Linked DNA regions of Homo sapiens: regions 2, 3, 4, 5, 6 and 7 are each linked to region 1. Evidence: promoter capture Hi-C in human tissues and cell types (Jung and others, 2019). All regions are on one chromosome and are shown on one strand. Each heading gives the region's core, a stretch centred on a gene start or on the middle of the fragment in contact. The rest is flanking DNA. Distances are from core to core; before and after follow the strand shown. Region 1 holds the start of ETF1 (eukaryotic translation termination factor 1). Region 2 overlaps DNAJC18 (DnaJ heat shock protein family (Hsp40) member C18). Region 3 overlaps PAIP2 (poly(A) binding protein interacting protein 2). Region 4 overlaps MATR3 (matrin 3). Region 5 has its middle 28 kb from the start of SIL1. Region 6 overlaps SIL1 (SIL1 nucleotide exchange factor). Region 7 overlaps SIL1 (SIL1 nucleotide exchange factor).

What was found. The method cuts DNA at HindIII sites, captures the fragments that hold promoters and counts their contacts. A contact is called where the count stands out against the background at its distance.
Region 2: a contact is called between a fragment that was not itself captured here and the fragment with the promoter of ETF1 in region 1, in 1 of the 25 tissues and cell types used here (hippocampus).
Region 3: a contact is called between a fragment that was not itself captured here and the fragment with the promoter of ETF1 in region 1, in 2 of the 25 tissues and cell types used here (IMR-90 fibroblasts and dorsolateral prefrontal cortex).
Region 4: a contact is called between a fragment that was not itself captured here and the fragment with the promoter of ETF1 in region 1, in 4 of the 25 tissues and cell types used here (IMR-90 fibroblasts, mesenchymal stem cells, mesendoderm cells and 1 more).
Region 5: a contact is called between a fragment that was not itself captured here and the fragment with the promoter of ETF1 in region 1, in 1 of the 25 tissues and cell types used here (mesenchymal stem cells).
Region 6: a fragment that was not itself captured here is called in contact with the fragment with the promoter of ETF1 in region 1 in 3 of the 25 tissues and cell types used here (IMR-90 fibroblasts, bladder and stomach).
Region 7: a fragment that was not itself captured here is called in contact with the fragment with the promoter of ETF1 in region 1 in 1 of the 25 tissues and cell types used here (mesenchymal stem cells).

What each region holds. Positions count from the first base shown.
Region 1 is chr5:138,540,817-138,545,189 of GRCh38, reverse strand. ETF1 (eukaryotic translation termination factor 1) reads left to right here and starts at 1,954. Exons shown (of 11, transcript NM_004730.4): 1 at 1,954-2,093; 2 at 2,254-2,357. The coding sequence starts at 2,272. RefSeq lists enhancers at 723-1,512, 1,394-1,793, 1,513-2,302, 1,244-2,443 and a silencer at 2,084-2,133. The HindIII fragment of the contact is 28,551 bases long and covers 1-4,373 here.
Region 2 is chr5:139,410,112-139,414,484 of GRCh38, reverse strand. It overlaps DNAJC18 (DnaJ heat shock protein family (Hsp40) member C18), which reads left to right. Exons shown (of 8, transcript NM_152686.4): 8 at 213-4,282. The coding sequence ends at 337. Among named protein-coding and RNA genes, the nearest start is that of SPATA24, 8.2 kb to the right of the region's middle. The HindIII fragment of the contact is 3,753 bases long and covers 418-4,170 here.
Region 3 is chr5:139,368,336-139,372,708 of GRCh38, reverse strand. It overlaps PAIP2 (poly(A) binding protein interacting protein 2), which reads right to left. Exons shown (of 4, transcript NM_016480.5): 4 at 2,992-3,976. The coding sequence ends at 3,911. SLC23A1 (solute carrier family 23 member 1) reads left to right here. Exons shown (of 15, transcript NM_005847.5): 14 at 456-722. The coding sequence ends at 703. Among named protein-coding and RNA genes, the nearest start is that of SLC23A1, 13 kb to the left of the region's middle. The HindIII fragment of the contact is 8,101 bases long and covers 1-4,373 here.
Region 4 is chr5:139,317,394-139,321,766 of GRCh38, reverse strand. MATR3 (matrin 3) reads right to left here. Exons shown (of 15, transcript NM_018834.6): 7 at 4,046-4,171; 8 at 2,734-2,859; 9 at 2,266-2,433. Among named protein-coding and RNA genes, the nearest start is that of PAIP2, 22 kb to the left of the region's middle. The HindIII fragment of the contact is 4,627 bases long and covers 1-4,373 here.
Region 5 is chr5:139,224,608-139,228,980 of GRCh38, reverse strand. No RefSeq gene overlaps it. Among named protein-coding and RNA genes, the nearest start is that of SIL1, 28 kb to the right of the region's middle. The HindIII fragment of the contact is 6,415 bases long and covers 1-4,373 here.
Region 6 is chr5:139,192,440-139,196,812 of GRCh38, reverse strand. All of the region lies in intron 1 of SIL1 (SIL1 nucleotide exchange factor), which reads left to right. Among named protein-coding and RNA genes, the nearest start is that of SIL1, 3.7 kb to the left of the region's middle. The HindIII fragment of the contact is 8,977 bases long and covers 1-4,373 here.
Region 7 is chr5:139,171,431-139,175,803 of GRCh38, reverse strand. The region is part of intron 1 of SIL1 (SIL1 nucleotide exchange factor); the gene reads left to right. Among named protein-coding and RNA genes, the nearest start is that of SIL1, 25 kb to the left of the region's middle. The HindIII fragment of the contact is 4,426 bases long and covers 1-4,043 here.

The DNA of each region.
Region 1 (4,373 bases), core at 705-3,204:
TGAAATGGAGGTCATACCCCCATCTTCAAAGTGTGGACACAGTTTATAACACATGCAAAAAGTATTCAAAAACCATACAAATGAAAGCGCATGACGGACATCCCTACTTACATGTCTCATAAGCAATCTCAAACTTAACAGGCCCAAGATGAAATTCTCAATCATCCCCCAACACCTACTCCTCACCTTTCCCACCTCAGTAAATGTCACCACTTCAGTACTCTGGGAACCATTCTTGGTTTTCCTCAACCAATCCATCATCCAGTCCTATTCACTTTTTTTTTTTCCTCGAGACAAGGTCTCGCTCTGTCACCCAGGCTGGAGTGTAGTGGTGTGATCTCAGCTCACTGCAGCCTCGAATTCCTCGGCTCAAGGGTTTCTCCCACCTCAGCCTCCCAAGCAGCTGGGACTACAGGCGCGGGCCACCACACCAGGCTAATATTTTGTAATTTTGTAGAGACGGAATCTTGCCATGTTGCCCAGGCTGCTCGCAAACTCCTGGGCTCAAGCGATCCTCCCCTTTGGCCTCCCAAAGTGCTGGGATTACAGCCGTGGGCCACTGCACCAGGCCCTTCATTCACTTCTATCTGCACTGTCACCACCCTAATGTAAGCGAAAATCATCTCTCACATGATAATGAAGCAGCCAAAATGGTCTCTGGGCTTCTCCTGTACTCTCTCCAGTCCACACCAGGGCTCTAAACCCTTTAAACTACCCACTGTTCTTGAAAGAAACCAAACTTCTGAATCTGGCTTAAAAGACCCTACATGACCTCTTCCCCTGCTGCTCCCTCAAACCACTCTCCCCGTCCCTGACCTTGTGCCAGCACACTGGCGTTTCTGTAGTTCTCAACTGTATTCTGTTTCCTCCTGACAAACTCTTAATCATCCTTTGGGTCTCATTTCAGAGCTGGGTCCCCGCCATACACTCTCAGAGCACCCTGAAGTACTTAAGCATTTGTGTAATTATTTTATTACAAAAAGTATAAAATCACAAACTTAAAAACCCAATCGACTATAAGCTCCATAAGGGTAAGTACTGTCATCTGTTTGGTTCACCTCTGTATCCCCAGGAAAACAGGGTCCAGCACACGGTCTGGGCTCAATATTTGAACCCAGACGAGGTGAGGGGGGACAAAGTAGCCACCTAAAAATCCTAACTCAAAAAGATAAAGTTCTAACCGTATGTGGATGCCCATTTTGTTTCAACTCTCTCCACCCCCATTCTCAACGGCTCAGGCCAAATCATACATGGGACCAGATACCTCAGGTCTCCAAGCTCAGGCAGCCCCCGCTGTCTTCCACCCCATAAAGTTCTAAGTCCAAAGTGAGCCCGTCCTAGCTCTGGGGCGAGAGAAAACAGGCCTCTTTCGCCCCTGCAGGTGAGGGTCCCGGACCGCCCGGAGGCAGGTTCCTCATCCAGACCTACTGGCCAGGACTCCTCCACACTATTCCGTGCAGCCATGACGCACGCAGACCGCAGCACTTCGTCAGCGAAGAAGCCGCTGAGCGCGAGGCGCTTCTTCGCGGCTTCTCAAGCACCGTTCAAACCGCGCGTCGGGCCCAAGTGCCTAGCTTCGAGTCGCAAAGCCTCAGATGTCCACCCTATTCAAGGAGAATGGACTGAAAAGACGACGACCCCGGTCCTCTCTCTTTAAGAACCACCCCCATTCGAGCCTGACGGGGGCTCTCAGTAAACTCGCGAGAGCCACCGGCTTCCGCCCGCTTCCTCCTCTCGCCTTGCCGGGCCGGAAGAAAGGTGGCACCTCCCACCCCCCAGCCTTACCTCACAAGGCGGCGCGGACCCAGCTGCAGCCAATCGGCGGGCTCATTGTAGGCTGCGGGGCAGAGAGCCAATGAGAAGTCGCGGCGGACGCCCAGCTTCTCCTCACTCGCACCGGCCCCCTCCCTTCCGCCTGCCGCCTTCCACTCCGCCCCTGGCGGAGGAAGTGATGTCACAGGCCCCATGTGAGCGGATTGCAACACATGCAGCTGCCTGGAGAGAGGGAGCCGGTGTCCTACGTCAGAGCCGCCGCCGCCGCGGAGCCGCCGCCGGGGAGGAGCAGCCGCTGCCGCCCAGGACTGGGCCCTTAGGTAAGGCACAGGGAGGGAAAGGCCGGTGACCTTTGTGGCGAGCTGCACCGGACGGGAGGAGAGGGCCTCTGGGGGATGGCGAGGAAGGGGGCCGCTCTGCCCCAGCGGCGGCGCTAACTCTGTGGTCTTGGTGTCTCCGGGCCCCGCCGGGCCGCTCTAGGGAGGAGGAGGCGAGAAGATGGCGGACGACCCCAGTGCTGCCGACAGGAACGTGGAGATCTGGAAGATCAAGAAGCTCATTAAGAGCTTGGAGGCGGCCCGCGGGTGAGCGCCGCGTCCGGCACCCTCCGTGCCCTCTTGGTTCCCGGACCCCTCAGGATGGACGCCCCCGCGCCGCATGGCCGGATGAGGAGAACCAGGCACTAGCCAACTCCCGCCTTCTGGATCTCTGGGTAGTAGCCCCTGACCCAGGGGCGAGGGTCGGCGCGGTTGGCCCGAGAAGGGGTCCTTTCCCCGCATGGGGGTAAGGGGCCCGCGCTCCCCGGTTTAGATCACTCGGCCCCCCTCGTGGTAGGCCACCGCTACTTTTGCACCTCTCCCGGGCCCTTAAGTCCAGGTCCTCCCTCTTCGGGCTCCAGGTGCTGCCACCCGACTCGGGTGCTATTGTGGCAAAGTGTTCGGCCTTCCTTTCCCAGGGCCCTTCCCTGATTTCCTCTTCTCCCTTCATTTCTCAGCCAGGCCTCATTAAAATGGCCTCTCCCTTCTGGGCTTCTGAGACCCGGGTGGGTGAAGTTTGGATGGGACGGGAAGCAGAGGTGGCCAGGGACAGCTTCTTTCTGATTCCTGATTTCTCTGGGTCTTCCACCTGTCCCAAGATGACTTCTCCCAAGTCCTCTAATTACCCCGGAGCTTCCTGGTTTTAGCTGTTCCAGGACCCACCTATAAACTGAAAATGCCAACGTACGCGCGATGTGAGGGGTGCTGGGTAGGTTTTGGTTAATGAATCTGCATGTGTATGTCCAGGAGAAATACGGGTTAGGGGGCCGTTTGATAGGAATCATAACTACAGAGTCCCTGCTGGCATTTCTCTGAAACTTGTGGGGATATCGCTGTAGAGAGGCGCCTGATGTGCTTGATGCTTGTTGAGTGAGATTCATAATTGAATTAAATGGGCTTTGAGTCTTGTACATTTTGATAAGAAACTGTAGGTGTGTCCATTGGGGGGAGAGTAGGCTAGATTAAAATTAGCTGTGTGTGTGTGTTTTCTTTTTTTTTTAACGTTGTTCGTTTGAGGAAGGTGTGCCAGGGGTATTCCTGTTTCTTTTATTACTTTATTTTGTTCCTTTCCCAGTCATAGAAACTTTTTACTTACAGGAAGTGCCCCCCCCCCCAAAAAAAAGTGTTTGGAACATTATTACATACTTGTATGTCTGAGCATTCTTAGAATAGTAGAATGGCCTGCCTCAGGCCATGTGAAAAGTTGATTTCAGCACAAGAATTTGACATTCTGGTTTCCAGCCCAGGATTGTCATTTATGGGTAGATTTGCAATTTTAGAATGACAGCCCCTCCAAGCTCTTCATTATTACTGTTATATGAAACAGGATGTGCTTAATTGTACTGAAGGCCCAATTCACAGGTTGGTTTTACTAGTGTTTTGTTCTTAATAAATTAGGGACAGTTCTGTTTGGAATGAGGCTTCTAAAAGTTTGGCCCCATTCAGTGACGGGCTTGTGCTCACTCCTTCGGTTTACTGGAGAAACGTTAGTTTAATATGAATCGAAGACAGCGGCTTGTTAGTCCTTAGGTTTTTCTTTGAATTCAATAGAATATCCAGACCTTCTTAATGATCTTACAGGAACTTGTGCCGTATGATAGAGTGACCAGTTATTCCCAAAATGTGAGAATACTGTACAGAAAGGGTAACATAGGTCACGACCCATTATGTTGCACTACCAAGAATTAGCCAGGTTCTTTTGTTTCAGTAGGATCTTGTTTTGTTACTTGAAGCCTTCAATCCAGTATTGCATTTTATAGATTGCTGTTGTTGCAGTATTGTATATAGGTGGATGTGACCTCTGGATTTGTTCTTACTGCTTTCAGTAGCAGGCAGGTTTACACATTTTAATTTGCATACGTTATATTCTCTGAAACAGTCCAAAAAATTAAATCATGACTATAATTTGCCTGTTTGAATGAAGTAACATTGAAGATGACATTGCTTAATAAGTAACAGCATTCCTTTCTACTGCTTAATGAAGGAAACTCATTCTTAAATTTGTTCTACCCATGTTACCTAGCCACTAGAAACTTTTAAGCGCCTCTTTAAGGCTTTTGAAGG
Region 2 (4,373 bases), core at 1,045-3,544, 870 kb before region 1:
CTGTTGGACTGCAGGGTCACAGGTGCCCTTTAATCCTCCACACCTGGTCTAGTACCTAAGACGTGTTTTGTGAATAAATGACTAAATGTTTCTTATATTTAATTGTAAGAAAAAGCTTGAAATGAAGTAAAAGGAGCTTTGACTCCAGAAACATTGAAATGAAACAAAGGAGTTCAGCTCTTGATGAATTGGTTACCTCTTTTATCTTTCAGAGTCAGAGCTGACAAATTTGGCAGGATTATACAGAGATGAACGATTGAAACAGAAAGCAGAGTCGCTGAAACTTGAAAACTGTGAGAAACTTTCCAAACTCATTGGCCTACGCAGAGGTGGCTGAGAGGATAATGGTCCTACGCAGGGCTGGGGTTTTGCTACTTGTTCCTATTTATGTTCCTGATTCCATTTTATAATACAAAACTAGGTAATGATGAACACTTTACTATTTGCTAACTTCGTTGGTTGGGCAGAGTGGCAGGAGCATGGGCACGAGAGCCAGATGTGTCTTCACAGGATCCTTCCTGGGGAGTGGCTCCAGGGACCAGGAGTAGTTCATCTAAGTTAAATTAATGGCAAGGCATTGGATTCCGTCTCCCTGCTCCATGCCTACCCTGCCTATGTGAATGGAGTTCAGGGCATCCCAGAGCAGATCCATGCTTTCTTCCTTCTTCCCTTCTTCAGTGAAGTCTTAAGAACCAGGCATTCCTAGGCTTAGCCAAAGCTTAATATTAGTTATTTACACTGTCTACCAAGAATTATACCTCTCCCTTCATTAGAGTCATCATCTCCGCCAAGATTTAGCCTTTGGAACATGTTCCTGCCCAGCTTTCCATTTTCTAGGGGAATATGGAGAAATTTAAACTATTGTAGTCAATAGTTTTCTATTATTCCAATCTCTGCTCAGTTAGTAGCATTAGCAAACTGCCTAATTTGAGATTCCTTTATTTCCTTAACCCTCTCTCCTTTAGAGAGTCCAGAAATTAAAACTACTGAGCAGCATCTGGAGGCGGGGGCCAGGGCGAAGGTATAATGCAAGACCGAGCCTCATCTCCTCCACGAAGCCTCCCTACTCCATCATAGAACCCAGAGAATGTCCCTTCGGTCATTTCCCCTCAGTATCATCATTGGTGTCATCGCACTTAGGCTGAGTTCCTACATCCCACAGAGGCAGATGGTCAGACCCAGGAGGAGGCATTGCCAGCTCTCCAGGCTGTTTGCTCAAGCCTAGAGATAGAGGAGACAGATCCTCTCTCCTTGGATATGGGGGTCTAGCTTTGGCCCCAGCAGCCACTTTGTTTAACCCAGTATCCTATAGTTTGTGATTTGAGATGATTTTTCATTCATTCAACATTTATTGAGTGCCTACTATAAAAGCAGGGGCTCTCACACATATTTTCTTACTTAAACCTCCTCACAACTCTGAAGTAGATGTATTATCCCTGGTTCTATGAATGAGAACATTGGCCCAGAGAGGATGACCCAGGTCTTGTAGTGGCAGAGCAAGACGGTAGGCTGAGTGTCAAGTAGAAAGTGGGAGAGCATCCTCATGTCTCAGGTGATTCTAGCCAGACTGGCAAAGCAGAACCTTTCCCGAGGATGCCTCCGTCCTCCCCAACCCCATGACCCCTCATCTTTTCTGTGGCAATCTTGCATCTGTTCAGGACAACATCCCTGCTGCTCTTTAGGAAGCAGGACCCTGTCTAACATAAATTCTGTACACAAAATAAGAGGTCCCTCACAGGCAGGCAGCCCTCCACTGGTGACTAGGAAGAATTCAGTCACTGCCTGGGCTGTGTGGTTCTGGGCCTTCCTGTGGAGCTGAGCTGCCTGAATTATCATGACTCTGAACTTGGAAGGATCATTAAGTGACTGTAGCCTACACTCCATGCTTCCTTCATATTGGAAGAAAAGTTTCTGGTAGAGAGTCGGCCGGGTGCACTGGCTCAAGCCTGTAATCCCAGCACTTTGGGAGGCTGTGGCAGGTGGATCACCTGAGGTCAGGAGTTCAAGACCAGCCTGGCCAACACAGTGAAACCCCATCTCTACTAATAATACAAAAATTAGCCAGGTGTGGTGGCACATGCCTGTAGTCCCAGCTACTCGGGAGGCTGAGGCATGAGAATCGCTGCAACTTGCAAGGTGGAGGTTACAGTGAGCTGAAATCACGCCACTGCACTCCACTCCATCTCAAAAAAAAAAAGAGTCTACATTAAACAGATTCCAAAGTAAAGTTTCTTCATCCCAATGCATGGCCATGATTTACACAGACGTGCCTAGCATGGCTCATCAACATCTGAACGGTTGTTCCCTACCATGCCTCTGCAGGCATTCCACAGAGTCAGGAGATGGGTTCACAGGTAAAGATTGGGGGCTTTAGTGGCTTGTAGGGGACAACTGCTCAGTTGCAGGGAGAGGGAGCATTTCTAGAAATAGCCAGATTTTGCTGCCCAACTAGATCTGTCCTCCTGGTTTTAGGGGGCCCTTCTTGATCCCCTCTGAGTGACTGAGGGAGGTTACATTGTAAAATATGTCCATGAGCCAAACAGGCTTATGGAAAGTTCTTCTACACACAAAAAAATCAAAGCTCTCCTCTCCCCATCCCCAACCACTGCTAGAAAATTGGCCATAATGAAACTGACTTGACAGGTTAAAAGACCCTGTCCTAGATGCCCAGGAATCAGGTAGTCACACATTTTATGGACTTCATGGCAGCGATAAGTAATCTGTGATGATACTAAATAGAAGCAATAATAACTAACTCCATTAAATGTCACGCTGATTGTCTGTTTTTATAGCACCGATGGTACTGTTTTATTTATTGCCAATAGACCACAACATTCACATCTGTTTTTCCTCAAGGGAACCGTATTTGCTTTTGGTTGAAGGATTTATCTATTTGATACTATCCAGAATATTGTGAAGCTATAATTTCCTGGGTTATATTTTAGATGGGTTGTCTGCATGGTGGTAAAATAAGCTTTTTCCTCTCGCCTACGTCCTTTGGAAGATCTCCTGATCATACATAACTAGGTAGGGCTTATTCTTGCTGCCGGAGCTTGGCACCCAGCTCTAGACTGTTTCTTTGAGCATTACTGCAGATTGGAGACGTGTGTGAGAGGAGCAGCGCTCAGAAATAGGGCTTGAGGCTCAAGCAGAAACTGAAGCTCTCATTCAAATGAAGATGCTCTCTCTACCGCACGATCGGCAGTGAGAAAAGGAGGATGAAAATCCTTCTCATCACAAAGAGCTTGAAGGAACCCACGTCCCCAGATTAGCAACCCTAGAGTTCATCTGCTCAGGCCGGGAAATGTGTAAGCTTCCTTGATCAGCTCCAGGCCTCACAGCACGGGAGCAGTGACCAGTAAGGAAACGTCACTGCTGTGCTTTCTGTTGGAAATTGTTCGAAAATACAGTGAACTGGCCAGGCCCAGTAGCTCATGCCTGTAATCCCAGCACTTTGAAAGGCTGAGGCAGGCAGATCATTTGAGGTCAGGAGTTCCAGACCAGCCTGGCCAACATGGTGAAACCCTGTCTGTACTAAAAATACAAAAATTAGGCGGGCATGGTAGCACGTGTCTGTAATCCCAGCTCCTCAGGAGGCTGAGGCAGAAGAATCTCTTGAGCCTGGGAGGCAGAGGTTGCAGTAAGCTGAGATCACATCATTGCACTCCAGCCTGGGTGACAGAGCAAGACTCTGTCTCAAAAAAAAAAAAAGAAAGAAAAAAGAAAATACAGTGAACTCCAGATGCCACTGGAACATGGGTTCCAGCAGCCTGGCCAAGCTATGTGTCATTCTTTTTCCTCATGATACCCAGGATGGGCTTTGTGAGGAGGCACTGTGCCGTTCCAGTGGCTTTCTGTTACAGCTGGCCACACCATACAAGCAAGTACATCATCTGCATGCACTGCTCCTCACAGGAGCTTGCACTTCATTCATATTTATTCTGCCCTCATTTAAGGTATAAGCTTAGTGTCCTAATATATTTATTTTTGGAAAGGGCCAAGTTACAAAACATCTTTTTTTTGAGGCTGCACTGTTGATATGTCATGCAGTGGCCACCAAGAAAGTATATACTCGTGTTAGATACTGATTACATCATTTACATCACGCTCAGTATTTGGAATTAAAGATGTGAATGTTCTGTGACCAGAGTAGGGATGACACAAATGGAATCAGCTCCTGGTGGACTAAGAATCTTGAAAAAATCTGGCCACCTCATCCACTACATCTGGATTGAGTGTACTGCAACAAAGAAAAACATTAAACAATTTTATATTAAAAGAATGGCTACTTTTCCTTGGTTCTTTTACCTTTGCCCATGGCATCCTTGGCCACTGCACATCGCCTGACTCCCTTGGAGCCACTTCCGACTAAA
Region 3 (4,373 bases), core at 835-3,334, 830 kb before region 1:
GGAGACTGAGGCAGGATAATCGCTTAAACCCGGGAGGAGGAGGTGGCAGTGAGCCGAGATCGTGCCAGTGCACTCCAGCCTGGGCAACAGAGCGAGACTGTCTCAAAAAAATAAATAAATAAAATAAAATAAAATAAAAATTTGTACAATGGTGTCTATACATCTCCCAGGGGTATGTTTTCAAGAAACAAGATAATGAAATTAAAGCACTTAGCACAGAGCCTGGCACACTGTAGTTACACAATAAATACTACTATAACTAGTATCCTTTAGTGTTCCTTAGAGCTCTGGCCAAGTTAGGAGCTCAGAAACCATAGATTCAGCCACGTTTTAGGACCAAATGATAGTTAAGGAAGATACTTGATTCCAGAAGTCTGCCTTAGGACTGGGTTATGGGAAGTGGGGGTGGCTGAGGGTTGCTGGCCTTGGTAAATGACCTCACTATCCTCTTCCAGGGAGCCCAGAGGAGCGTGGTCTGATACAGTGGAAAGCTGGGGCTCATGCCAACAGTGACATGTCTTCCAGCCTCAAGAGCTACGATTTCCCCATTGGGATGGGCATAGTAAAAAGAATTACCTTTCTGAAATACATTCCTATCTGCCCAGTCTTCAAAGGATTTTCTTCAAGTTCAAAAGATCAGATTGCAATTCCAGAAGACACTCCAGAAAATACAGAAACTGCATCTGTGTGCACCAAGGTCTGAAAAATGACTTCCAGGAAAGGTAGGATGTGTCTATGGTTTTTGTGGGAGGGTTGAATAATCAAAACATTCTTATGCTTTAACCAAAGAAAAACCAAACTACTCAGTTCTCTTTCTTGTAAACTGTTTGAATGTCCTCAAAGAGAAGGTGAGCTGGGTAAAAAGTCAACATACGGATTTTGGGTGGAATTCCTTTACCATTTCATAGTAACAGCAGAACTTCCCAACTAGTGTGGGCCACTAAGAGGCTACAAGTATGCTGAAATGCAGATCCTCTAGCCTTCCAGACACCTGGGCAGAATCTGGGCCAATTGGAGTCCTTGAGCTAAGAACTCTAGCCACTGGCAGCCTCATTCTTGTACTCCAGTATGCTAAACAAGTATCACTTTGATATGCGACATGGAAAATGTTGAGAAATGCAGCACAAGAACAGGAAAAATCCTCTCATATACACTGCCTTGTCTCAATAACGTCATAAAATTAAAACCCTTTAAAACAGGATGCCTTTATCCTAAAACGATGCCTGTACAAGCCCTGATGAGGTGACACTTTGTCCTTAGGTCTTCAGAACGCATGGGCAGCTGATGCTCGGAAACCTTCCATCACTATCTGTAATGCAGATGCCTGGCTCTCTACTAAACACTGAAGTGGGTTCAATGTGCACGTTCCCTCAGACAGACAAGAAAAGTTCCCAAAAAGAGAGGTTAGCCTAGATGACTCCTTAATAGTAAAAATAACAACACTTAAAACAGGACTTTCTATGTCTTAAGTACTTATATATATTAACTACTCACATAATCCAGAGACAGTTATTACTGCTATTTTAGAGATGTGGAAAGGAAGGTACAGAAAGGTTAAGTGATATGCCCATGATCACAGGATTCACATCCAGGAAGTCTGGCTAGAGTTCCCTTTTCCTTTTTTTTTGAGACAGAGTCTTGCTCTGTCGCCCAGGCTGGAGTGCAGTGGCGCCATCTCGGCTCACTGCAACCTCCACCTCCCGGGTTCAAGCAATTCTCCTGTCTCAGCCTTCTGAGTAGCTGGGATTACAGGCGTCTACCACCATGCCCAGCTTATTTTTGTAGAGATGGAGTTTCACCATGTTGGCCAGGCTGGTCTCAAACTCCTAACCTCAAATGATCCACCTACCTTGACCTCCCAAAGTACTGGGATTACAGGCGTGAGCCACCGCACCCAGCCTAGAGCCCCCTTTTCTTTTTTTAAATTTTTTTCCCAACAAAAGCCACATTCAAGAATCTTTACTCTTAAGGGCGATCACCTGAGGTCAGGAGTTCGAGTCCAGCCTGGCCAACATGGCAAAACCGCATCTCTACTAAAAAAATACAAAAATTAGCCAGGCGTGGTGGTAGGCGCCTGTAATCCCAGCTACTTGAGGCTGAGACAGGAGAATCACTTGAGCCCAGGAGGCAGAGGTTGCATTGAACTGAGATTGCATGACTGCACTCCAGCCTTGGTGACAGAGTGAGACTCTGTCTTGAAAATAAATAAATAAATAAATAAATAAATAAATAAATAAAGGCTGGGTGCGGTGGCTCACGCCTGTAATCTCAGCACTTTGGGAGGCCGAGGCAGGTGGATAACCTGAAGTCAGGAGTTCAAGACCAGCCCGGCTAACATGGTGAAACTCGGTCTCTACTAAAAATACAAAAATTAGCCAGGTGTGGTGGCACACAACTGTAATCCTAGCTATTTGGGAGGCTGAGGCAGGAGAATCACTTGAACCTGGGAGGTGAAGGTTGCAGTGAGCTGAGATCGTGCCACTGTACTTCAGCCTGGGCAACAGAGCAGGACTCCGTCTCCAAAAACCAACCAACCAACCAACCACACACTGGGGTACAGGTGCCCACACCAAAGAACCTCCCCCATACCCACTGCCAGAAGAATGTGAGTCAGAACTGACTATATGGCTCTCTTAATCTTTTTCAACCTAATAAGCTCAAAAAAAGCCCTTGTGAAGAACAAAAAACAATGGAGGTTCTATTAGAGTAAGGTCACCATCATATTGGTCAGCCATAAAGTTTCTTACATGACTATCTAGGATTCCCCTGACACTGAAGTCTGAGGTGATTAAGAAGCAAGGATGGGCAATGGAGTTATTCTACTGCTATATTCTGGAAAGGTACTTGCATGGCAACATACCTGTTAGAATCTAACAAAGCCTGAAAGCTTAGCACATTTTGCCAGCAAGATTGTCCTGAGGCACTGGGCCCATACTCAAGTGAGTAACACCACTACAGTACATTCCAGCACCAATAAACACAACCATCTGCTCAGTTCTACTATTATTTATTTTTTTAAATATTTTTGAAAAAATATAATTTTTTTACAATATTTTCAACTTAAACACTATTCACACTGAACACGTATGGCAGCTTAACCTACCCAAATATGAAGTTTAAGAAGCCAAAACTGTTCTAGCTTTGTTAAAAGTTGTGCTGCAGACTCTCGTGATGGTTAACAAAGCAAGGAAAAGCACCACTCAAATCATGTTACAGTATCTTTGTTCAGCTGGATTATGGGTTGGTATTGGTCATATGTTAGACTCCATACAGGCATAGCTATGATGCAGTGAATCCCTTAGAAGTTACAATTCTCAAATTACATACTTCCTCAGATGTAACATTAGAACTCAATATTTCTAACAATAACATACCAGAAAAGGCTGGACTGGCACTCATCTGCTGACTAACTTGTAGCCTCAGTAATATGACATACTTGCCTTTAACAAATTATCTCAAATTAACTAACAGACCTTCAGAAAATGGAGATTCTTTTTGATGGGGACATAATCAAATTTAAGTCTGAGAAATATGCTTAACAGTTGGAACTCAAATTAAATGTACTGATTTTAAAGTTTAGACATTAACAAGTGATAGATTAGCCTCAAAAAAAGACAATTTGGTAAGGTTTAGGTCTTTTAATTTGGTGCTTGTTCACAACTTGACTGGTGCTTCTTTCCTTGCTGTCTTCACATCAAGCCATGGGGCCAATTCTATTTTCAGTAAATGTTTGACAGCTTTTTACTTAGTAACAGTCTCAGCACTTTTATTAAGCATGCAAGACTAACAAAAACTTTGGCAATGCATAAGTGTAACACAGTGACAAGAGAGCTTTTACAATTAAGTCTTCTAATACTGCCTTCACAGTGTGGAAATTGTGCTACATCCACCAAAAGAGGGCCCCGTCTACTCAAATATTTCCGTACTTCACCCCAGGAACAAACTCCTTTGCATTTGGATTCAGATTGCTCTTGACCTGGAAAATAAGTACATAAAAAAGCAAGTTCATTAACACAGTTTCAGGTACTAATTCAATCTAGATCCTCATGCAAAAACATCTTCCAAAAAAAAAAAGACAAAAGAACTCAGTCTGTAAGACTATACTAAACCCCAAAAAGGAAGAACCAGATGTAAGCTATATATCATATTAAATTACATCAACTTTTTCTTTTCTTTTTTTGTGACGGAGTCTTGCTCTGTCGCCCAGGCTGGAGTGCAGTGGCACAATCTAGGCTTACTGCAACCTCTGCCACCTGGGTTCAAGCGATTCTCCTGCCTCAGCCTCCTGAGTAGCTGGGACTACAGGCGCGTGCCACCACACCCAACTAATTTTTTGTATTTTTATTTATTTATTTAGTTTTTTTTTTATGAGA
Region 4 (4,373 bases), core at 985-3,484, 780 kb before region 1:
GTGTCACCCAGGCTGGAATGCAGTGGCGCAATCCTGGCTTGCTGAAGCGTTGATGTACTGGGCCCAACTGATCCTCCCACCTTAGCCCCCCAGTAGCTAGGTCTACAGGCATGCACCACCAATGCCTGGCTAATTTTTGTATTTTTTGTAGAGGTGCAGTTTCGCCATGTTGCCTAGACTGGTCTCGGGCTCCTGGACTCAGGCAATCCTCCTGCTTTGGCCTCACAAAGTGCTGGGATTACAGGTGACAGCAACCACACCCGGCTAAAAATTTTAATCTTTAGCACAGAGTTAAAAATTCACTGAATATCAGGGCTGGGCGCAGTGGCTCACACCTGTAATCCCAACACTTTGGGAGGCCAAGGCGGGTGGCTCACCTGAGGTCAGGAATTCCGAGAACAGCCTGACCAGTATGGTGAAACCCCATCTCTACTACAAATGCAAAAATCAGCTGGGCCTGGTGGAGTGTGCCTACTGTAGTACCAGCTACTTGGAAGGCTGACATAGGAGAACTGCTTGAACCCAGGAGGCGGAGTTTATAGCAAGCCAAGATGGCACCACTGCACTCTAGACTGGGCGACAGAGCAAGACTCCATCTCAGAAAAAACCAAAAACCAAAAAACCAACCTGTCAGATTTACAAAATCCCCAAGAATCACTTTAGTGCCAAATACTAAGCCATCTATATACACTCTGCAAAAAAGTAATAAGCTGGCTGGGCGCGGTGGCTCAGCCTGTAATCCCAGCACTTTGGGAGGCCGAGACGGGCGGATCACAAGGTCAGGGGATCGAGACCATCCTGTGGATGGTGAAACCCGTCTCTAGTAAAAATACAAAAAAAAAAAAAAAAAAATTAGCCAGGCGTGGTGGCGGGTGCCTGTGGTCCCAGCTACTGGGGAAGCTGAGGCAGGAGAATGCCATGAACCGGGGAGGCAGAACTTGCAGTAAGCTGAGATTGCACCACTGCACTACAGCCGGGGTGACAGAGCGAGACTCTGTCTCAAAAAAAAAAAAAAAAAAAAAAGTAATAAGCTTAAGATATTAAAATAGTGTAAGAAAAATAAAAGTCTGGAAGAACACAAACTTGCAATGCTGAATTACAGAAGTGTTTAAAACAAAAAAAGAAAAACAAAAAAGATGTTCTCCTCATCCTTATTTCCTTTTTGAGACAGGGTCTCACTCCACTGCCTATGCTGAAGTACAGTGGCACAATCATAGCCCACTACAAACCTTGGACTCCTGGGTTAAGTGTTCCACCTGACTTCAGACTCCCGTAGCTAAAACTGTACGAGCATGCCACTTTGCCTGGTTAAAAAAAATTTTTTTTTGTACAGATGTGGCCTCAATATGTTGTCAGGGCGGTCTCAAACTCCTGGGCAACTCTGGCCTCAGCCTCCCAATGTCTAGGGATTTACAGGCATGAGCCAATGCATCCAGCCTAACTCTAAATTTTTTTTTTTGAGATGGAGTCTTGCTCTGTCACCCAGGATGGGTGCAGTGGCACAATCTCGAGTCATTGCAAGCTCCGCCTCCCGGGTTCATGCCATTCTCCTGCCTCAGCCTCCCCAACAGCTGGGACAACAGGCGCACGCCACCACGCCCAGCTAATTTTTTTGTATTTTTAGGAGAGAGGGGGTTTCACTGTGTTAGCCAGGATGATCTCAATCTCCTGACCTCGTGATCTGCCTGCCTCCGCCTCCCAAAGTGCTGGGATTACAGGCGTGAGCCACTGCGACTGGCTAACTCTATATTTTTTAAATACAAGAAAAAAAAGTATGAAATATTAATTTTTGAGACCCTGTCTCAAAAAAAAAAAAAAGAAAAGAAAAGCAAACAACTAGTCCTCCAGATTTCATCACTAAAAATAGGGATATACTTTAAAAAAAAAAAAAAAAAAAAAAAAAAAAGCAAATTTTTTTTTTTGAGTTGGGAGTCTCGCTCTGCTGCCCAGGCTGGAGTGCAGTGGTGCAATCTCAGCTCACTGCAACCTCCGCCCCCTGCCAGTTAAGCAATTCTCCTGCCTCAGCCTCCCAAGTAGCTGGGATTACAGGCACATCACGCCTGGATAATTTTTGTATTTTTAATAGAGATACGATTTCACCATGCTGGCCAGGCTGGTCTCGAACTCCTGACCTCAGGTGATTTGCCTGCCTTGGCCTCCCAAACTGCTGGGATTACAGGTTGAGGAATGACGCCCAGCTCCATATTGAAAAATCTTAAGGATTTTAATAAATTATCTTCTCTAAAACTTCCTTATGTATATTACCTGACTTTTCATCCTCATCAATATGTAATTCTTTATTTTCCCATAAGGCTCAGCAAGCTTGAGAACAGCACTATCAGAATAGCCAGAATGCGGCAAATTGCTGAGATGTATCACACGTCCAAGCTCTTGCTTTTGATCAAACTTCTGATCTGGCTTTCCTTCAGGTTTCTTTAATAAATAACAACAACAAAAGGACAAATGTGCAATAATTATTAGTTAACAGTTAAAAACATCCTAGTCTTTACCAATTGTTTTATTTTTATAGAGACGAGGTCTTGCTATGTTGCCCAGGCTTGCCTGGAACTCCTGGGCCTCACATAATCCTTCTGACCTTGGCCTCCCAAGGTGCTGGGATTACAGGCGTGAGCCACCACACCTGGCCTTAGCAATAATTTGAAATAACCACAGTTAATAACTATTAAAATCATTTGTTAAACTGATATACAGCTTGAAAAAAATAAACATTACCTTTATTCTTTTATACTTCTGGGATAAATGAACTCTCACTGGCTTGCCAAATACTAACGCTGGTGTGGTTGTGTAATAATCCACTGCGGCCTGAGCATCCTCTGTGGTTGCCATTTCAATAAATGCCTGAAATTATACAAAAAGTTATTTCTCTGTTTTTTCCAATCAGCTTTCTCACATTGAACTAAAGATTTTTTTTCCTAAAAAATAACAATGCCCCAAATCTTTTCAGATATATTTAATCATTAAGTAGAAAATACTTTCAAGAATCAAAATACAAAACAAAAGAGGCTGGGCCCAGTATCTCATGCCTGTAATCCCAACACTTCGGGAGGCCGAGGCAGGCGGATCACGAGGTTGAAAGATCAAGACCATCCTGGCCGACCAACATGGTGAAACCCCGTCTCTACTAAAAATACAAAAATTAGCTGGGCGTAATGGTGGACGTCTGTAGTCCCAGCTACTTGGGAGGAGGCTGAGGCAGGAGAATGGCTTGAACCTGGGAGGTGGAGGCTGCAGTGAACCTCACTGCACTCCAGCCCAGGTGACAGAGTGACACTCAAACACAAAACAAAACAAAAACAAACGAACAAAAATGTTGGCCGGGTGTAATGGCCGACGCCTGTAATCCCAGCACTTTGGGAGGCCAAGGCGGGTGGATCACCTGAGGTCAGGACTTCGAGACCAGCCTGGCCAACATGGTGAAACCCCATCTCTACTAAAAATACAAAAATCAGCTGAGCATGATAGTGGGCGGCTGTAATCCCAGCTACTTGGGAGGCTGAGGTAGGAGAATCGCTTGAACACAGGAGGCGAAGGTTGCAGTGAGCTGAGATCGCGCCACTGCACTCCAGCCTGGGTGACAGAGCGAGACTCCGACTCCCAAAACAAAGAAACAAAAAAACCCCAAAAAACAGTGTTGCCAATTTGCTATTTTATTACAAAGGCCACCTCAGATTAATTTTCTACTGCATTACTTTATCATTTACTATGCCAATTGGACTAAAAATAATGACTTGAAACCATCATTTTGGTATAGATCTGAAATGGCTTTCCACAGAATTTTCCTTTTACAACTTTTATAGTAGTATAATGACAATTACTACCTAAGGATCATAATTTATAGTTACTAATAATCCATTAGTACCCTATTATATTCATCAACTACTGGCCTTTTCCTCTACTACATTCTGCATTTGATAAACTTAAGATTACCTTGAGTTTTATTTTTCTAATACAAAATCATTTAATTCTTGCAGAACATATATTAGTGGCATGAATAAATGAATAATACCAATATTTCAATTCATACCTCATTAATTTTATTTAGAATCAGATGATTTGAAATGACTCCAAATGGTTCTACCAGCTGTAATAGCTGGTATCTCAAGTTTTTCCCTCGTTGAAAATCCATGATGTGAACAACTCTGCTAGTTTCCTATCCATTAGGGGAAAAAAACCAAGCAATTAAGTCTCTTTAAAGCAATATGAAACCAATTACGCATTAGGACTTTTTATAATCTATAATTAACCAGGAGAGTGTAAGTAAAACAACTCATAACATTCTAGAGAATTTTAAAGCTACATATCAAACGTCACTGGGTAAGTTCTTTCTGACCATAACCAAACGGTTAAACTAC
Region 5 (4,373 bases), core at 1,246-3,745, 680 kb before region 1:
ACTCTCTAGTTATTCAGGTGAAAACTAGGTGATGAGGGGCCTCATTCATAATTCCTTCCACACTTTCACCTCCCACATCCAATCAACCACTAAGTCCTGCCAATTTTGCATCTCAAATATTTCTCAAACCCATTTCCTTTTCTTCATTTCAACTACTATTGCCCTGCTGCAGGCTCTCTTCCTCTCTTGCCTGGATGCTTCTGCAGCCATGTAACTCATCTGTCCACTTTCTGCCATGTTTCCATCCCCACCACCATCTACATTCCTGCCAGAAGAATTATTGTAAAATACTGTTATGCCTGTGTCACTCCCTTGCTTAAACCCTTAGGGTAAAGTCTAAGCTCCTTAGCATGATATAAAGTGCCTGTGATGACCTGGACCTTGGCCACTCCTCCACCCTCTCTTCTTGCCATTCTCCACCTTGCATTGATTTGTGTGCCTCAGAAATACCAAACTGCTTGTAGTTCCCATCAGGGATCATGCTGCTTCTCTGCTCTGTCCTTTGCTCGTACTAGTCTCCCTGCCTAGAATGCCCTTTCCTCACATCTGGAGCTCAGAAGTCTTACTGGCTTCAAGTTGTTGAAAGCATGTATTTTTGCAGTTGTGGTTATGCTTATTAGGAGAGCCAGGGCAAGGGCACAAAATTTAAGTTGTTTTGCAAGTGAGAATGAACACATCTTTAAATCTTGTGCCCTGGGTGCTTTACTTATCCTAGTCTTGGCCCAGTCTTGTCTCCTAGGCTGGGAGCTTCCAGAGGGCAAGAATTTTGTCTTTTATCCCTGTAATCCCTAGCACAATGACTGGTGTCTAGTAGGTACTCAGTGTAAATGTTTGTGGGAGGGAAAGAGGGAAGATGAATCAGAAGTCCACTGCTTGGGCCTTCAAATCTAGACTCTGTCTCTTACTAGCTATGGGAATCTGACCAAGTTATTTCTCTGCTTCTCAGTTTTCTTATCTGTGGAAAAGAAATAATAACATCTCCATTACAGGATTTTTTTTCCATTTTAAGGAAAATTACCCGTTTCACCAAAATTTTCAAACTTATTGCTTTAAAATATTTTTTTACAGTGTTCTCTTATGACTTTAAATTTTCTGCTATACAGCTATATCTTCTTTTAAATGTTTTTTTTTTTTTTTTTTTTTTTTTGGAGATGGAGCCTTGCTCTGTTGTCCAGGCTGGAGTGCAGTGGCGTGATCTCAGCTCGCTGCAACCTCCGCCTCCCGGGTTCAAGCTATTCTCATGTCTCAGCCTCCCAAGTAGCTGGAATTACAGGGGCCAGTCACCATGCCTGGCTAATTTTTGTATTTTTAGTAGAGACGAGGTTTCGCCATGTTGGTCAGGCTGGTCTGGAACTCCCAACCTCAGGTAGTCTGCCTGCTTCATTCAGCCTTCCAAAATGCTGGGATTACAGGCATGAGCCACCGCGCCCAGCCCTTTTAAATGTTTTGATATTGTTTATCTATGCCTTTTTCTTGACTGAGCTTGTCAAAAAAATTTTGTTGATTCTCTATAGTATTTCTATGTTTTTTTCTGCTCTTGTCGCTCAGGCTAGAGTGCAATGGTGCAATCTTGGCTCACTGCAACCTTTGCCTCCCGGGTTCAAGCTATTCTCCTGCCTTAGCCTCCTGAGTAGCTGGGATTACAGGTGCCCGCCACCATGCCCAGCTAATTTCTGTATATTTATTTATTTATTTATTTATTTATTTATTTATTTATGAGATGGAGTTTCACTCTGTCACCCAGTTGGAGTACAATGGCGCAATCTCAGCTCACTGCAACTTCTGCTTCTAGCAATTCTCCTGCCTCAGCCTCCCAAGTAGCTGGGATTACAGGTGCATGCTACCACACCCGGCTAATTTTTGTATTTTTAGTAGAGACAGGGTTTCCTCAGGCTAGCCAAGCTGGTTTCGAACTCCTGACCTCAGGTGATCCGCCTGCCTCAGCCTCCCAAAGTGCTGGGATTACAGCAGTGAGCCACCGCACCCAGCTTGCTTTTCTCATATGAGCATTTAAAGCCATACATTTCCCTTTAAATACAAGTTTGTCTTCTATGGCTATTTTTTATTTAGAAATATCTGCATTTTGATTTATTTTTTATCCCATAATTCTAGAAATGTTTCCAAATGCATGGGGCTGTTGTTATCTTTCTGTCATTGAGTTCTATTTTGTTGTGTTTCTTTTTGCTTTTTTTGAAATGGTGTGTCATTCTGTCACCCAGAATAGAGTGCAGTGGCGTGATCACAGCTCACTGCAGTCTTGACCTCCTGGGCTCAAGCAATCCTCCCACCTCAGCCTCCTGAGTAGCTGGGATCACAGGCATGTGCCACCATACCCAGCTAAATTTTTTTATTTTTAATTAATTAATTTTTATTTTTATTTATTTATCTTATCTCCCTAAGCTGATGAAGGATTTTTTATTTTTTGTAGAGATGAGGTCTCACTATGTTGCCCTGGCTGGTCTCAAACTCCTGGGCTCATGATTCCCCCACCCCAGCTTCCCAAAGAGCTGGGATTACAGGCATGAGCCACTGTGCCTGGCCTTGAATTCTATTTTGATTAGAGAAAGTGGTCAATTTGTTACAATAGGTAGCTTAGTCAGGCATAAGCAGGGCAGGAGAGGGCTGCTCTCATACAACAGGAATGCCAGGTGACCATCAGGTGATGGTTAGGCAGTTGTTAACTGTCTCTCTAAACAAATAGTTGGTGACAGCCAGTGCCAGGGAAAGGCAGTCTCCTAATATATAGAAAACACTTGAAACTGCTATCAGCGGCTTTCTGGTAAGATCTCAGGAGTTGAGCGAGGGGGCCCAAGAATGCAGTTTAAGAGGCAAAATGGTGGAGTTTAACTGGTATATGACCTTGCTCTAGAGATGCTAGACTGGTAAGGGAAGAACGCCTCAAGTGAGCATGCTATGACTCCAGTAAGCACACTGCATATGCTCCCTTCCCAAGTGCTAGCAGTCCACTGCTCACGCGGACAGCCCACCCCAAGGCCCCAAGGGAAGAATCAGAGGAGAAATAACTCAAGACCCTACAAGTATGGCAACATATAAAACCCATGCATGTGATCTCTCAAGTGTACTTTACTTCCTTTGTGTTTTTTTTTTGAGAAAGAGTCTCAAATATTGGCTCACTGCAACCTCTGCCTCCCGGGTTCAAGCGATTCTCGTGTCTCAGCCTCCCAGGTAGCTGGGATTACAGGCGCACATCACCATGATCAGCTAGTTTTTGTATTTTTAGTAGAGACAGGGTTTCACCATGTTGGCCAGGCTGGTCTTGAACTCCTGACCTCAGGTGATCTGCCCACCTCTGCCTCCCAAAGTGCTGGGATTACAGGCGTGAGCCCCCACACCCAGTGCCAAATGTATTTTTATTTATTTATTTATTTTTTTTTTTATTGATCATTCTTGGGTGTTTCTCGCAGAGGGGGATTTGGCAGGGTCATAGGACAATAGTGGAGGGAAGGTCAGCAGATAAACAAGTGAACAAAGGTCTCTGGTTTTCCTAGGCAGAGGACCCTGGGGCCCTCCACAGTGTTTGTGTCCCTGATCAGGGAGTGGTGATGACTCTTTTTTTTTTTTTTTGAGACGGAGTCTCGCTCTGTCACCCAGGCTGGAGTGCAGTGGCGGGATCTCGGCTCACTGCAACCTCCGCCTCCCGGGTTCACGCCATTCTCCTGCCTCAGCCTCCCAAGTAGCTGGGACTACAGGCGCCGGCCACTACGCCCGGCTAATTTTTTGTATTTTTAGTAGAGACGGGTTTTCACCGTTTTAGCCGGGATGGTCTCGATCTCCTGACCTTGTGATCCGCCTGCCTCAGCCTCCCAAAGTGCTGGGATTACAGGCGTGAGCCACCGCGCCCGGCCGGTGATGACTCTTAACGAGCATGCTGCCTTCAAGCATCTGTTTAACAAAGCACATCTTGCACCGCCCTTAATCCATTTAACCCTGAGTGGACACAGCACATGTTTCAGAGAGCACAGGGTTGGGGGTAAGGTCACAGATCAACAGGATCCCAAGGCAGAAGAATTTTTCTCAGTACAGAACAAAATGAAAAGTCTCCAATGTCTACTTCTTTCTACACAGACACGGCAACCATCCGATTTCTCAATCTTTTCCCCACCTTTCCCCCCTTTCCACTCCACAAAAGCGCCATTGTCATCATGGCCCGTTCTCAATGAGCTGTTGGGTACACCTCCCAGACGGGGTGGTGGCCGGGCAGAGGGGCTCCTCACTTCCCAGTAGGGGCGGCGGGGCAGAGGCGCCCCTCACCTCCCGGACGGGGCGGCTGGCCGGGCGGGGGGCTGACCCCCCCACCTCCCTCCCGGACGGGGTGGCTGCCGGGCGGAGGGGCTCCTCACTTCTTAGACGGG
Region 6 (4,373 bases), core at 807-3,306, 650 kb before region 1:
ATAACATGGGTCAGAACTTGGTCTGTGGTTTTGAGAACATGGCTCTCGGGTTTTTAAGATGGTGTTACCACACCACATTTATTTCCCCTTTCTTTCATTTGTTTAGTGAATTTAATCTGCTCATGAATACATGTGCTGTTTTAATGAAATTGGCAATAGAAGAGACGTTCTGCTCCCATTTTACAGGTGATGGAAATGTTAGTAGGGATGCGGCAGTCCAGGAATGAAAAGTTGCCTAGTACTTTGATTCCCACTTACTTCCCCTTCCCTGCTGTTTTCTGAAGGCCAGCTATTACTTCTCTACTGAGGCCAACTGTGAGCCCTGGTGTGTTTCATTGGCAGGAGAAGAGGCTAATTAAGTGAAACTGAAAGGTAACAAAATGGATTTTAAAATAACTGACATGTGGGAACTTGATCCACCAATGAATGTTCTCCTTTAGAGTGATGTGTGCAGGTGTAGGTGGTGGGAGTTGAGGATGGCGTGCCTAAGTGATTTGGCTGTTGTCCAAGGCAGTTTTGAAAATCCACCTCTGGAATTGTTTTCAGAGACCTTTTTGAACCATGCGAGAGATCAGTTTCTTTAATATATTAAACCATACTGTATTATTATTATTATTATTTTTCAGATGGGGTCTCACACTGTGGTTCAGGCCGGAGTGCAGTGGCATAATCATAGCTCACTGCAACCTTGAACTCCTGGGCTTAAGTAATACTCTCACTAAAGCCTCCTGAGTAGTTGGGACTACAGGGGCGCACCACCAGGCCCAGCTAATTTTGTAATTTTAATTTTTGTAGAGACAGGGTCTCGCTGTGTTGCCCAGGCTGTTTTTGAATTCCTGGCCTCAAGCGATTCTTCTGTCTTGGCCTCCTAAAATGTTGAGATTACAGGCGTGAGCCACTGCACACAGCCTATATATATTTAACCCCGAATGGCATGGGTAAGCAACCTTGTCACCTGCCTTGTCTTCAGATGAGTTAACAGTTCTTTTGAAGTGGAAATAACAGATTTTTGGAGGGTGGTGAACATGAGTTTTAATTCTGAGTCTACCACTTATTAGCCACATAACCTTGGATAAGTTACTTCACCTCTGGGGCTCAATGTACCACTACATAACAGTGGGAATAGGGCCGGGCATGGTGGCTCACGCCTGTAATCCCAGCACTTTGGGAGGCCAAGGTGGGCGGATCACGAGGTCAGGAGATCGAGACCATCCTGGCTAACACGGTGAAACCCCGTCTCTACTAAAAATACAAAAAATTACCCGGGCGAGGTGGTGGGTGCCTGTAGTCCCAGCTACTCAGGAGGCTGAGGCAGGAGAATGGCGTGAACCTGGGAAGCGGAGCTTGCAGTGAGCGGAGATCACGCCATTCACTCCAGCCTGGGCGACAGAGCGAGACTCCGTCTCAAAACAAAACAAAACAAAACAAAAAAAACTGGGAATAATATTTACTTTGAAGGGTGGTTAAATGACGTATTACACATGAAAGCTCTTGGGACATAGGAATGCAATAAATGTTTTCACCCTCAAAGAATGAAGATTTGCCGTTAATGAGAATATTCAAAAGAACATGAGAGTCTCTGGCCGGGTGCGGTGGCTCACACCTGTAATCCCAGCACTTTGGGAGGCTGAGGTGGGTGGATCACCTGAGGTCGGGAGTTCAAGACCAGCCTGACCAACATGGAGAAACCCCGTCTCTACTAAAAATGCAAAATTAGCCGGGCGTGGTGGCGCATGCCTGTAATCCCAGCTACTCGGGAGGCTGAGGCAGGAGAATCACTTGAACTCGGGAGGCGGAGGTTGCAATGAGCCGAGATCATTGTGCCATTGCACTCCAGCCTGGGTGATAGAGCGAGAGATTCTGTCTCAAAAAAAAAAAAAAAGGCTCTGAAAGGAAGTTGTACCTTTTTCGAAATAGGTGGATTCTCTTTTTCACATACTTGTGGATTCATACTCTGACCTGCTCAGCCTCCCCCTGTCTTTCTTCATTCATTTTCTGTCCTTTCCTAAGTGAAGTTTTGCTGCAGAGGCTGTCTGCCAGTCTCTTGTAGTAAGCCTCTTTTCAGGAGAGCTAATCTGAACTCTCTTACAATGCTAGTCCCTTAGTCGCTATTCCTAGGGATTTTTTTCTGGGGGCTCCAGATGGTGCTTGGATCACGCTCTGTAGCACAGCCATCTCTAACTCCTGGATTTGGTGTCAATTTGGAGACCCATCCTGTGGAGCTAATCTTCTCTCTTTCTGAGCAAGGATGAATACTTTATCCTTTTCTGAGTCGGCCTTAAACTGCAAACCTTAGTCTTCTACAGCAGAGAGTCTTGTATTTTAATTATACGTAGACTAAAGACGGAATAGCATGCCCTTTTCTTTTCTTCCTTTACTTTCACCAAGGATTTCACTGCTGAGTAGGGGAGTAGGAGAATAGCCTGTTGCCATTCAGAGTGAGGCCTTGGGTAACCCCTGATTCCTAGCATAAGCAATAACTGAGTTCATCTTTGGGACAAAAACCTTGTAAAAGATTCGGGCTGCTCAGACACATGTGGAGAACCTCAAGCTAGGAATTTTCCTAGCTTGTGAGGAGTTTACACCTGGCATTCTTACTTTTGCAAATTTGTACCCAGAATCCAGTAGCAACAAAACTATATTCAGCCCAGACTTGTAGTTCCTTCAGGTTCCACCAGGCAGCTGTAAGACATGGCTGTGATTATGCTGGCTGGCCATGTTTGCCTTCATCCTCCTAATACTGCCCTTGGCTTTGGTATTGAGAAGGAAGTGGCATAATCAATTCATGAGTAACATTCTCTGCCAAAGTGGAAATCAGGGGCAGAGAGTTGTGAGCATAGGACTAGACAAATGGAAAGAGCCAGCCTTGCCTCAGGAATGCTGCTAAAGTGCTGTGAATCCGTGACAACCACTGTGTTTCTTGGTGTCACCTCATTTGTGAAATGGGAATGCCTTCATTGATCTCTCTCTTGAGAAGAGTGGACCACCATGCCAGTTTTCCCAGGACAGAGGGATATCCGTATGTGGGACTTTTAGTGCCAAAAGCAGGAAAGTCCGGGGCAAACCAGGACAAGTTAGTTACCCTACCCATGACCATTATACAAGTTAATGAACACTGTGCCCTTAGGGTTCATCTAAGACTCAACCCTTTGGGTTCATCTAATTATTTTTCAACCTTTTGTTCATTATCATATTTTGAGACTTTTTTTCCCTTAATTGTCTACTCCCCAGTGGAATGTTTTTTTGAGAGGGAGTCTCACTCTGTCGCCCAGGCTGGAGTGCAGTGGTGTGATCTCTGCTCACTGTGGCCTCTGCCTCCTGGGTTCAAGTGATTCTTGTGCTTCAGCCTCCTGAGTAACTGGGATTATAGGCGCCCACCACCATGCCCAACTAATTTTTGTGTTATTTAGTAGTAGTTTTTGTGTTTTGCCATGTTGGCCAGGCTGGTCTTGAACTCCTGGCCTTAAGTGATCTGCCCACCTCAGTCTCCCAAAGTGCTGGGATTACAGGCATGAGCCATCGTGCCCAGCTACCCCCAATGGAATTTTAATACCACAGATGTACTGTGTATCTGTTTTTGTATTGTGGCCCTTTGGATGGCCACAAACCATTGTAATATCTAACTTTTTTTCCCCCAAGAATCAATTTTCACCCCTTCTGGGCTGTTACTGCACTCACTGAGAATGCATGGTCTTATCTGATATTCTTTCTTTAATGTAGTCATCAAGGCCAGTTTTTTATCCAGAAGAAACAGCTAGTACCACAAGCTTTTTCGTTTCCTTTCCTGTTTTTTTTTTTTTTTTTTTTTTTTTTTTGAGACTGAGTTTCGCTCTTGTTGCCCAGGCTGGAGTGCAATGGCGTGATCTTGGCTCACTGCAACCTCTGCCTCCTGGGTTCAAGTGATTCTCCTGCCTCAGCCTCCTGAGTAGCTGGTACTACAGGCATGTGCCACCACATCTGGCTAATTTTTTTTTTTTTTGGTAGAGACAGTCTCACTGTGTTGCTCAGGCTGGTCTTGAACTTCTGGGCTCAAGCATTTCTCCTGCCTCGGTCTCCCAAAGTACTGGGATTATTAAGTGTGAACCACCACACCCAGCCAAGTTTATTCTTTATTGTTTTAATTTTCTTCCAGTCTTTGGATTTTGAGGTGGTCCATTTATCATCTGCTTCTCTGGTGCCTCTTGGACCTTCCATCTTCACAGCTGGGGCTGCTGTGTTGGCCCAGGTGTCCCCAGACTGGACATCGGAACCTTTGGGAAGAGTCTGATGTTTGGCCCTTGTCACATTTCACATTTCACATCTACAGAGAAATGGGGAAGGGTATGTTTCTGAGGTCTGCTCATAGGCTATGTTGTGACTGAGGAAGTTCTTGA
Region 7 (4,373 bases), core at 581-3,080, 630 kb before region 1:
TTTAGTAGAGACGGGTTTTCACCATGTTGCCCAGGCTGGTCTTGAAGTCCTGACCTCAGGTGATCTGCCTGCCTCGGCCTCCCGAAGTGCTGGGATTACAGGCGTGAGCCACCGCGCCTGGCCAGTCTGTAGTTTTCTTGTAGTGTTTGTCTGGCTTTGGTATCAGAGTAACGCTGGCCTCAGAGAATAAAGTAGGGAATATTCCTTCCTCTTCAATGTTTTGGAAAAGTTTGAGAAGGATTGATGTTAGTTCTTTAAATGTTTGGTGAAGCCATCAGGTCTAGGGCTTTGCTTTGTTGGGAGATTTTTGATTACTGGTTCAGTTGGCTTGCTAGTTACAGGTCTGTCTGTTCAGAATTTCTATTTGTTTGTGATTCAGTCTTGGTAGATTTTGGTTCTATGAATTTGTCCATATCTAGGTTATCAAGCTTGTTGGTGTACACCTGCTCATAGTACACTCTTTTTTTTTGTTTGTTTGTTTTGAGATGGAGCTTCGCTCTTGTTGCCCAGGCTGGAGTGCAGTGGTGCGATCTTGCTCACTGCAACCTCCGCCTCCCGGCTTCAAGCAATTCTCCTGCCTCAGCCTTCTGAGTAACTGGGACTACAGGCGCGTGCCACCATGCCAGCTAATTTTTGTATTTTTTAGTAGAGACGGGGTTTTGCCATCTTGGCCAGGCTGGTCTCCAACTCCTGACCTCAGGTGATCCACCTGCCTTGGCCTCCCAAAGTTCTGGGATTACAGGTGTGAGCCACTGCGCCTGGCCTAGTACACTCTTATAATCCTTTTCATTTCTGTAGAATCAGTGGTAATATCTCCACTTTCATTATTTTTTTCTTTTATTCTTTTTTTTTTTTTTTTTTTTTTTGAGACACAGTCTTACTCTGTCATCCAGGCTGGAGTGCAGTGACATGATGTCGCTTCACTGCAACCTCTGCTTCCCATGTTCAAGTGATTCTCCTGGCTCAGCCTCCTGAGTAGCTGGGATTACAGGCACATAACATGATGCCCGGCTAATTTTTGTATTTTTAGTAGAGACAGGGTTTTGGCATGTTGGCCAGGCTGGTCTTGAACTCCTGACCTCAGGTGATCTGCCTGCCTTGGCCTCCCAAAGTGCTGGGATTACAGGCTGAGCCACTTCACCCTGCAGTCTTTTTTGTTTTTTTTTGAAATGGGGTCTTGCTGTACTGCCCAGGCTGGTCTCAAACTCCTGGGCTCAAAGGATCCTCCTGAGTACCTGGTACCACAGGCATGTGCCACCATACCTGGCCCAACTTTGATTTCTGATTTTAGTAATTTGAGTCCTCTCTCTCTTTTTCCTTTTTGAGACAGGGTCTCACCCTGTTGCCCAGGCTGGAGTTTGGTGGCGTAGTCATGACCTCCTGGGCTCAAGTGATCCTTCTGCCTCAGCCTCCCAAGTAGTTGGGACCACAGGCACCTGCCACCATGCCTGGCTAATTTTAAAATTTTTTGTAGAGATGGGATCTTGACATATTGCCCAGACGGGTCTTGAACTCTTGTGCTTAAGCAATCCTATCTTGGCCTCCCAAAGTGCTAGGATTATAGGTGTGAACCACTGTGCCTGGCCTGTTTTAAAAAAGTCCATCTAGGTAAAGGTTTGTCAATTTTGGTGATCTTTTTTGCATAACCACCTTTTAGGTTTGTTGATTTTTTTCTATTATTTTTCTATTCTCTATCTCATTGATCTTAGCTCTGATCTTTATTATTATTTTCTTTCTTCTGCTAGCTTTGGGTTTAGTTTGCATTTCTTTTTTCAGTTCCTTAAATTGTAAAGTTAGGTTGTTGTCTGTGATCTTTCCTGTTTTTTTTTTTTTCTTTTATTTTTTGAGACAGAGTCTCACTCTGTCACCCAGGCTGGAGTACAGTGGTGCAATCTCAGCTCACTGCAAGCTCCGCCTCCTGGGTTCACGTCATTCTCCTGCCTCAGCCTCCTGAGTAGCTGGGACTACAGGCACCTGCCACCACGCCCGGCTAATTTTTTTTTTTTTTTTTTTGTATTTTTAGTAGAGACGGGGTTTCACCATGTTAGCCAGGATGGTCTCGATCTCCTGACCTCGTGATCTGCCTGCCTTGGCCTCCCAAGGTGCTGGGATTACAGGCATGAGCCACCGTGCCTGGCTGATCTTTCCTGTTTTTTAATGTACACATTATAGTTATAAATTTCTCCTTTAGTATTGCTTTTGCTGTGTCCCGTGTAAGTTTTAGGTATTTATTTATTTATTTTTGTTTATTTTTAAGACAGCGTCTCACTCTGTTTCCCAGGCTGGAGTGCAGTAGCATGATCTTGGCTCACTGAAATCTCTGCCTCCTGGGTTCAAGCAATTCTCTTGCCTCAGCCTCCTGAGTAGCTGGGATTATAGGCTCCTGTCATCACCCCCAACTAATTTTTGTATTTTTAGTAGAGATGGGGTTTCACCATGTTGGCCAGGCTGGTCTCAAACTCCTGACCTCAAGTGATCTGCCTGCCTTGGTCTCCAAAGTGCTGGTATTACAGGCTTGAGCCACTACACCCGGCCCTCATTTTTTTTGGTGTATATTCTTTAGCTATTTTCTGTGTGGTTGCCATGGGCATTACATTTAACATCCTGAAGTTATAACACTGTAATTTGAATTTATAATAGCTTAACTTCAATAGCATAGAAAACTCGGCTTCTTCAACAGCTCCATTTCTCACCCCTTTCAGTTGTTGATGTCATGATATTGCATCTTACACGTTGTGTGTCTAAAAACATAACCTATATCTATTTTTTTAATGCATTAGTCTCTTAAATTATGTAAAAACAAAATGTGGTGTTGCAACATCCTGGGGGTGAATTCTAGGGTAGGCTGTCTTCTTTGGGATCATGGGGGCATCAGCGGGTTCTGGAGTGGGGGCAGAGATGTGAGGCATTATCTAAAATTGGAAATGTCACAGAGGATAGAGAAAAACTCCCCTCAGCACTTAGCAGTGAATCTGGGACCAGCTGGTGTTTTGCTGCCTGTCTTCACTGTGGCCGCAACAGCTGGCAGCCATTGCGGCTGCCATCTTGGGAGTGGGTCCCTCCAAAGTTTCTGATGAGAGATCTCCTTATCTTATTGAGGATCCTTGTGTGTAATGAGTTGCTTTTCTCCCCTTCAAGATTTTGTCTTTGTCTGTCTTTTTTTTTTTTTTTTGAGACGGAGTCTCACGCTATTCCCCGGCCGGAGTGCAGTGGCGTGATCTTGCCTCACTGCAACCTCCACCTCCCGGGTTCAAGCAGTTCTCCTGCCTCAGCCTCCCAAGTAACTGGGATTACAGGCACCTGCCACCATGCCCAGCTAATTTTTTGTATTTTTAGTAGAGACAGGGTTTTGCCATGTTGGCTAGGCTGGTCTCGAACTCCTGACCTCATGATTTGCCTGCCTCAGCCTCCCAAAGTGCTGGGATTCCAGGCATCAGCCATCATGCCTGGCTCTAAGCCACCATACCTGGCCCTTTGTCTTTCAACAGTTTGATTATAATGTGTCTTGGTGTGAGTCTCTTTGTATTCATCCTGTTTGGAGTTTGTTGAGCTTTTCAGATGTTTATGTTCGTGTCTTTCATCAAATTTGGGAAATTTTGTACCATTATATTTTCAAATGTTCTCTCTGCTACTTATCTTTTCTTTCTGGGACTTTCACAATGTGTATGTTGGTCTGCTTGATTGTGTCCCCTAGGTCCCTTAGTCTCTATTCACTTCTCTTCAGTCTTTGTGCTTCTTTTCCTCAGACTTGATAATTTCCATTGTCCAGTCTCCAAGTGTTCTCAGATTATTTCTTTTGCTTGCTCAAATCTGCCTTTGAATTCCTCTAGTGAATTTTTTATTTCAGTTATTGTACTTTCCAGCTCTAGAATTTTTGGTTTCTTTTTAAGATGTCTGTATCTTTATTGATATTTTAATCTTTTTCCAAACATTGTTTTCTTGATTTTTCTCCATGCCTTCCTTTAGTTCTTTAAGCAACTTTAAGGCTGTTGCTTTAAAGTCTTTGTCTAGTAGATCTGCCATTAGGTCTTTTCGGGGATAGTTTCTTTTGGTTTATTTTTTTTCTTTTTTTTTCTTTTTTATTTTTTTTCTTTTTATTTTTTTTTATTGATCATTCTTGGGTGTTTCTCGCAGAGGGGGAGTTGGCAGGGTCATAGGACAATAGTGGAGGGAAGGTCAGCAGATAAACAAGTGAACAAAGGTCTCTGGTTTTCCTAGGCAGAGGACCCTGTGGCCTTCCGCAGTGTTTGTGTCCCTGGGTACTTGAGATTAGGGAGTGGTGATGATTCTTAACGAGCACGCTGCCTTCAAGCATCTGTTTAACAAAGCACATCTTGCACCACCCTTAATCCATTTAACCCTGAGTGGACACA